Regions from separate parts of the Homo sapiens genome. Here region 2 is linked to region 1. Evidence: promoter capture Hi-C in human tissues and cell types (Jung and others, 2019). All regions are on one chromosome and are shown on one strand. Each heading gives the region's core, a stretch centred on a gene start or on the middle of the fragment in contact. The rest is flanking DNA. Distances are from core to core; before and after follow the strand shown. Region 1 holds the start of RRS1 (regulator of ribosome synthesis 1). Region 2 has its middle 14 kb from the start of SNHG6.

Region 1 (3,695 bases), core at 148-2,647:
TGCAGAGAATAGATCTACAGACTTAAAACCAGAGTTAAGATATCTCTTGTTCTTATATTCCCTAACTGCATAACTTTAGATAAGTCATTTCACCTCTCTGAGCCCTCCTTGTTTCATCTGTGAAAATAATATAGTTAATACAATAATTAATAACATAGTTAATACTAATAGCTAACACATACTGAGTTCTTACCATGTAGCAGTAACTAATGTTTTATGTTTGTCAATTTATAAATAAGGCTTAGATCAAACATCCTCTCCAAGTAATGGTGACCTGATACCTGATTGTAGGCCGTTTGACTCATACTTAACACCATGTAGCACTTACCTCCCAGAGCCTATGAAAATGAAATAATAATCGGTATTTGGCTAATTTGTACTGAGTACTCATACGCTCCAGGCCCTCGTCTAACCCTCCCTTGGACGATATTAACTCATTTATCTTATAACCACCCTAGGAAGTATTATTATCATTATCTCGCAGGCCTTAAAACGGCCTCAACAAGTAAAATTGCTGAAGGACCAACAGTGGCACAGTCAGGATTGGAACCCAGGCAGTGTAACTGCAGAGCGTGGCTTAGTTTCAGCACTGTACTAGATTAATTGAACTAGACTAGGTTCTGTAACTGCAGAATCCCGGATCTCCGAGTCAGCTAGCTCACTAGGGTCGGTGCACACCCGCGCCCACTCGGGGTGGCTTCATTGCCAGAGCCACTGACTCCCAAAACAAAACGAATCTTCTACAATTAGCTCTATGTGTATCTTTGGGATGTTATCTTTCTCGGGCCACAACTAGGAACCCTGAAAGCCGACTATGACTCCAGTGAAACTATTTGGCCCTAAGAAGGGTGATTGTCTAAACATCTTCACAACGGATTTACACTGAAATTGTAACACGCACTTGATTGGAACCCCACACCACAGGCAGTCCCAGGAATTTGTACCCGCCCCGGTCCCGGACCGCGCCCCTGGACAAACCCTCCGGCCCGCCCCTCCGGATTGAGCCCCAAGACTGTCCCCGGACCACCATCCTAAGACCACTCCCTGAACTGCCCCCCCCAAGACCGCCCCCTAGATCGCCCCCCGGGACCGCCCTCTCTAGACCGCCTGCGAGACTGTCCCCGGACCGCCCCCTGGACCACCCCCTAGGCGGCCCCCCGAGCTGTCCCTGGACCGCCCTCTAGACCGCCTCCCGCCCCCTGCATCCTGGGAATCGTAGTCCCAATCCTGCTCTGGAACTAGCAGTGCGGCCTGCTCGGGCCAGCTCCGCCTCTATCTGGCGCCAGCCTAAAGGTCCCGCTTCTAATCCCATCATCTCTCCATACCGCCCTCTGCCGGCCTTTCCTCTGGTCGCCCGGATTGCGAGCCGCTTCCGGACGCTCCGGAAGCGAACCTTTCTTTTCCGGATTGGGCATCCCGGCATCTGCACGTGGTTATGCTGCCGGAGTTTGGGCCGCCACTGTAGGAAAAGTAACTTCAGCTGCAGCCCCAAAGCGAGTGAGCCGAGCCGGAGCCATGGAGGGCCAGAGCGTGGAGGAGCTGCTCGCAAAGGCAGAGCAGGACGAGGCAGAGAAGTTGCAACGCATCACGGTGCACAAGGAGCTGGAGCTGCAGTTTGACCTGGGCAACCTGCTGGCGTCGGACCGGAACCCCCCGACCGGGCTGCGGTGCGCCGGACCCACGCCGGAGGCCGAGCTACAGGCCCTGGCGCGGGACAACACGCAACTGCTCATCAACCAGCTGTGGCAGCTGCCCACGGAGCGCGTGGAAGAGGCGATAGTGGCGCGGCTGCCGGAGCCCACCACACGCCTGCCGCGAGAGAAGCCTCTGCCCCGACCGCGGCCACTTACACGCTGGCAGCAGTTCGCGCGCCTCAAGGGCATCCGTCCCAAGAAGAAGACCAACCTGGTGTGGGACGAGGTGAGTGGCCAGTGGCGGCGGCGCTGGGGCTACCAGCGCGCCCGGGACGACACCAAAGAATGGCTGATTGAGGTGCCCGGCAATGCCGACCCCTTGGAGGACCAGTTCGCCAAGCGGATTCAGGCCAAGAAGGAAAGGGTGGCCAAGAACGAGCTGAACCGGCTGCGTAACCTGGCCCGCGCGCACAAGATGCAGCTGCCCAGCGCGGCCGGCTTGCACCCTACCGGACACCAGAGTAAGGAGGAGCTGGGCCGCGCCATGCAAGTGGCCAAGGTCTCCACCGCCTCTGTGGGGCGCTTTCAGGAGCGCCTCCCCAAGGAGAAGGTGCCCCGGGGCTCCGGCAAGAAAAGGAAGTTTCAACCCCTTTTCGGGGACTTTGCAGCCGAGAAAAAGAACCAGTTGGAGCTGCTTCGTGTCATGAACAGCAAGAAGCCTCAGCTGGATGTGACTAGGGCCACCAATAAGCAGATGAGGGAGGAGGACCAGGAGGAGGCCGCCAAGAGGAGGAAAATGAGCCAGAAGGGCAAGAGAAAGGGAGGCCGGCAGGGGCCTGGGGGCAAGAGGAAAGGGGGCCCGCCCAGCCAGGGAGGGAAGAGGAAAGGGGGCTTGGGAGGCAAGATGAATTCTGGGCCGCCTGGCTTGGGTGGCAAGAGAAAAGGAGGACAGCGCCCAGGAGGAAAGAGGAGGAAGTAATAGTTTCTAACTGTCGGACCCGTCTGTAAACCAAGGACTATGAATACTAAATGTTAAGTTCTAGGCAATTATACGGGGACTCAGAAGGACCTGGCCGCTGCCTTCATTGAGTTTAAAGGGACAGGATTGCCCTTCCGTCAAGAAAGTATGTAAGTGTTGGACTGCACAAATTAATGTTTTTCCCACAACCGAGACTTTGGAGATTAAGAACTTATTTGAGGATTTAAGAATTAGGGAAATAATTTGGTGGAAACCGGGAATGAGTTCTATTCTTAAACAGCCTTTTTTTTTCTTTTTAATGTTGGATATACGGCGAGGTAGAGTTGGCCATATTTCAGAGACTTAGATTGACGTATATGTTTCTGCATTATTTTTACAACAAGTTTGTGTATCAGAGCGGGAGTGCGGGGGAGGGAAAGAAAACAAACAGTTTCAGAATTGAATAGGCAAGTGACTGTTTTAAAGATTAAGTAATAAAGATGTCTTATCTAGTGTGACTTTTAACTTTCTGACTACTGGGTAGAAATTGTACTTGAAGCCGGTTACCTGGATACCTGGTACAGATTATTTTTGTTTACTTTCTGAAAAACACAAAGCAGGCCGTGCGCAGTGGCTCACTCCTGTAGAGTCCCAGTACTTTGGGAGGCCGGGGCGGGCGGATCACCTGAGGTCAGGAGTTCGCGACCAGCCTGGCCAACACAGTGAAACCCCATCTCTACTAAAAATAAAAAAATTAGCCAGACACGGTGGCTGGTACCTGTAGTCCCAGCTACTTGGGAGGCTGAGGCAGGAGTATCGTTTGAACCTGGGAGGCGGAGGTTGCAGTGAGCCCAGATCACGCCACTGCACTCCACTCCAGCCTGGGCAACAGAGGAAGGGGCCATCTCAAAAAAAAAAAGCAGTTCAATTATAATGGTTTCAGTGATACCACTTCTAAACTTATACTTCTTTTGGTATCAAATATAATATTCAAAGTAGTAAAACTGATGTCTGTTTTTTAAAAAGATTTTATGCCTTTCAACACTGAACACATGGATTTCCTGTAAATGATCAATTTGGGCTTCATTGACTAATGGTAATAA
Region 2 (3,419 bases), core at 722-3,221, 510 kb after region 1:
TTTAATTTACTAAAGCCACTATAGTTGGGTCTTTCTTATTAGCAGCTGAATGCAATTCCTAACTAATCTAGTAAGCAATGAACAATGCCTGCCGTAGCATTAAAAAAACATTTGTGGGCCAGGCATGGTGGCTCACGCCTGTAATCCCAGCACTTTGGGAGGACGAGGCGGGTGGATCACGAGGTCAGGAGATCGAGACCATCCTGGCTAACACGGTGAAACCCCGTCTCTACTAAAAATACAAAAAATTAGCCGGGCGTGGTGGCGGGCGCCTATAGTCCCAGCTACTCGGGAGGCTGAGGCAGGAGAATGGCGTGAACCCGGGAGGCAGAGCTTGCAGTGAGCCGAGATCGAGCCACTGCACTCCAGCCTGGGCGACAGAGTGAGACTCTATCTCAAAAAATAAATAAATAAAATAAAAAAATAAAAAAATTTGTGGACCAACTGATGATTGATGAACAAAGGCACTGAAGCGTGAAATAGCTGTGTGTGTGTGTGCACATGTGTTTACTAATAACTAAAATGTAAAATAGGAAGTGGTGGAGGGCAGTGACATAGGAAGAGGGTTCATAAATCAAGTTAAGGGGTTAGACTTCATCCTTAGATCATGGGATACCACTGAAGGGATTTGAGCAAGTATGTTATATCTTCAGGTTTGCATTTTTTGATAGGTTACTTGGGTGCAGCCAATACTGAAGGCTGGGGAAACTGTCAAGGCTACAAATTATAAGGTAAAAATGATGAATACCTGCAATAATTATTCTTACATACATTTACAAATGTAAGTATATCAATAGGGATTTTTGTTTGTTTTTTGTTTTTTGAGAGGGAGTCTTGCTCCACCGCCCAGGCTGGAGTGCAGTGCCTCAATCTTGGCTTACTGCAACCTCCGCCTCCCAGGTTCAAGCGATTCTCCTGCCTCAGCCTCTTGAGTAGCTGAAATTACAGGCACATGCCACCACGCCTGGCTAATTTTTGTGTTTTTAGTAGAGACGGGGTTTCACCATCTTGGCCAGGCTTGTTTCGAATTCCTGACCTCATGATCCACCCGCCTTGTTTCCCAAAGTTCTGGGATTACAGGTGTGAGCCACTGCACTCGGCCTGGTAGGGAAATTTTTTAACATGGCATTGCTAAGTCAGAGTGTGTATACTTATAATAGTGGGAGATACTGTCAAATTACATTTAAAAGAGGTTATGCTTCCAACAGTACAAAAGTCCTCATTTCCTCACCTTCACTAATGATGAGTATTTTTTGTATCATTGACAGGTGAAATATGTTCTTCCATTGCTTTCTAAATGTGTGTTTCTTAATTATGCCTGAACTTGTGTATCTTTTCATAAATATATTGGCTGGTTTCTTTTTTTTTTTTTTCCTGAAACAGATTCTCATTCTATTGCCCAGGCTGGAGCGCAGCGGGACAATCTCGGCTCACTGCAACCTCCACCTCGTGGGTTCAAGTGATTCTCCTGCCTCAGCCTGCTGAGTAGCTGGGATTACAGAAGCCTGCCACCATGCATGGCTAATTTTTGTATTATTAGTAGCGACGGGGTTTCACCATGTTGGCCAGGCTGGTCACGAACTCCTGACCTCAAGTGATCCGCCCACCTCAGCCTCCCAAAGTGCTGGGATTACAGGCGTGAGCCACCGTGCCCGGCCCTGTTTGGTTTCTTTCTATGAACTGCTGTTTGTTACCATTTGTGGAAGTTTCTCTTTTTTATTTTTTTTTGTGGGGGTAGGGGGACAGAGTCTCGCTCTGTTGCCTAGGCTGGAGTGCAGGGGCTCGGTCTTTGCTCCCATTTGTGCAAGTTTCCACTAAGTTGTTGGTGTTTTGCTTTTTTGAAATCTGAGAACTGATTTTATGTAAAGAGATTTACTGCTTTATCATGTGTTGTGATTTTTTTCCTCTGGCTTGTGTTTTGTCTTTTGACCTTGTCTTTTGTTTTGTGAATTTATTTTTATGTAGTCAAAATTAGCCATCTTTCCCTTTAAGGCAGCTTGCGGGTTTTTGTGTCACGCTTCACCTTACATGTTTAACTCTTCATCAAATGGAGCTAATGAGCCAGGGAAGACACACCTAGCTTGCACTGAGCTGCCTACATGCACTTTCTCAGCTATTATTTCATATCAACTTTGTGAGCTAAGGGGAAGAGGGCAAAAGGCAAGGGAAATGTATTGAGAACAAACCCTATACCAAGTGCTTACCACAGTGAGAGACCTGCAGCAAAGGACAGTGTTTTCCAACCAAACTAGGGGTGCAAACTCAAGTGCTTTAAGCATCCAGGCACTAACGGAGTAGGTAGTCTAGGACAGGAACCAGGCTCTCGGAGCCATACTGTCTGGGCCTGAATCTGGCCTCTGATTAGCTGGACAACGCTGGGCAAGTTTCTCAAGACTCTTTCCTAATCCATTTGCAAAGGTCCAGGAAGGTCCTCAGTACCAACACAGTCATTTTGGTGTGTTCTAAACTATAAGGTCAAATAAGTTGGAATACTGAGCAATTAGGTGTAAACTGTTGATGCAGATAGTCCATCTCTACTGTATAATTGGGTTAAAATGTCCATACCATGACTGGAATGTGAGGAAAATAACGTAGCTTTATGTCCTGTATCCAACCTCATCTTGTTCTAGAATCCTCACTCCTGAAGAGGAAAACTGCCAAACAGATCCCTTTTGATGTTAGTCTCTGTTCATTAAATATTCAGCCAAGTAAAAGTTGAAGCTCTATCAGTGCTGTTTACACTCAATGGGCTTCCTGCCTGTCCTTCTCCATTCATCCCTAGATGGCTTCAGGGAGCAGTTGTGAATCAAAAGGACATGGAGGGAGGGACTGCAGGCTCCCATGCTGTCTGTCCTCTGGGTCTAGACTGCACTCTGACATAGTGTGTCTGTCACTACCTGGTCCCTCAGGGTCATGCTGGCATCCACTGCTGAGATCCTGCATCCTGCTTACAATGTCCCCTTTTGGGGGCCCTGTACTCTGCGGCCTCCTGTGTCCTGGCATCCTGGCCTGAGTACTCTCAGCAGCTTGTGACCTGTGGCAGCCTGCGGTGTGGGGCTGCCCTCAGGACCCTCCCTCAGCCATTGCTCATCTTGCCTGCCCAGGGTGTGGCTCTGGGCAGAATCTAGGGCTTTGTTGGGCTTTGTCTAGAGAACTGTGGCAAGGTCAGCCCTTGTCTCCAATTTTTCACTACCCCACACTTCCCTATTTTTCTCAAGATGGACACCAGTGGAGGTTGACACCTCCACTACCTCTCAGTGCCTTGGCCTCCCTTCCCTGTTAGCACCTTTAGTAAAACTCCATTTATAGACCTCCAATCTTGGCGCTTATACATAGAGGGCAGCTTTTGGAACTTAAAATTCCATTTTCTCTCTTCATAAAGTCTGAAATTTAAGTCTATTATCTTGCTTGCTAGGGAC

The links. Contacts are between HindIII fragments. The study calls those that stand out against the background at their distance.
Region 2: a contact is called between a fragment that was not itself captured here and the fragment with the promoter of RRS1 in region 1, in 1 of the 25 tissues and cell types used here (mesendoderm cells).

Annotation. Positions count from the first base shown.
Region 1 is chr8:66,427,617-66,431,311 of GRCh38, forward strand. It overlaps RRS1 (regulator of ribosome synthesis 1), which reads left to right and starts at 1,398. Exons shown (of 1, transcript NM_015169.4): 1 at 1,398-3,117. The coding sequence starts at 1,516. The coding sequence ends at 2,613. RRS1-DT (RRS1 divergent transcript) reads right to left here and starts at 1,361. Exons shown (of 3, transcript NR_040434.1): 1 at 1,326-1,361. The region is part of intron 1 of LOC102724687 (a long non-coding RNA gene); the gene reads right to left. RefSeq lists enhancers at 787-856, 1,277-1,646, 2,916-2,965 and a silencer at 1,047-1,136. The HindIII fragment of the contact is 14,371 bases long and covers 1-3,695 here.
Region 2 is chr8:66,938,149-66,941,567 of GRCh38, forward strand. No RefSeq gene overlaps it. Among named protein-coding and RNA genes, the nearest start is that of SNHG6, 14 kb to the left of the region's middle. RefSeq lists an enhancer at 2,548-3,049. The HindIII fragment of the contact is 8,975 bases long and covers 1-3,419 here.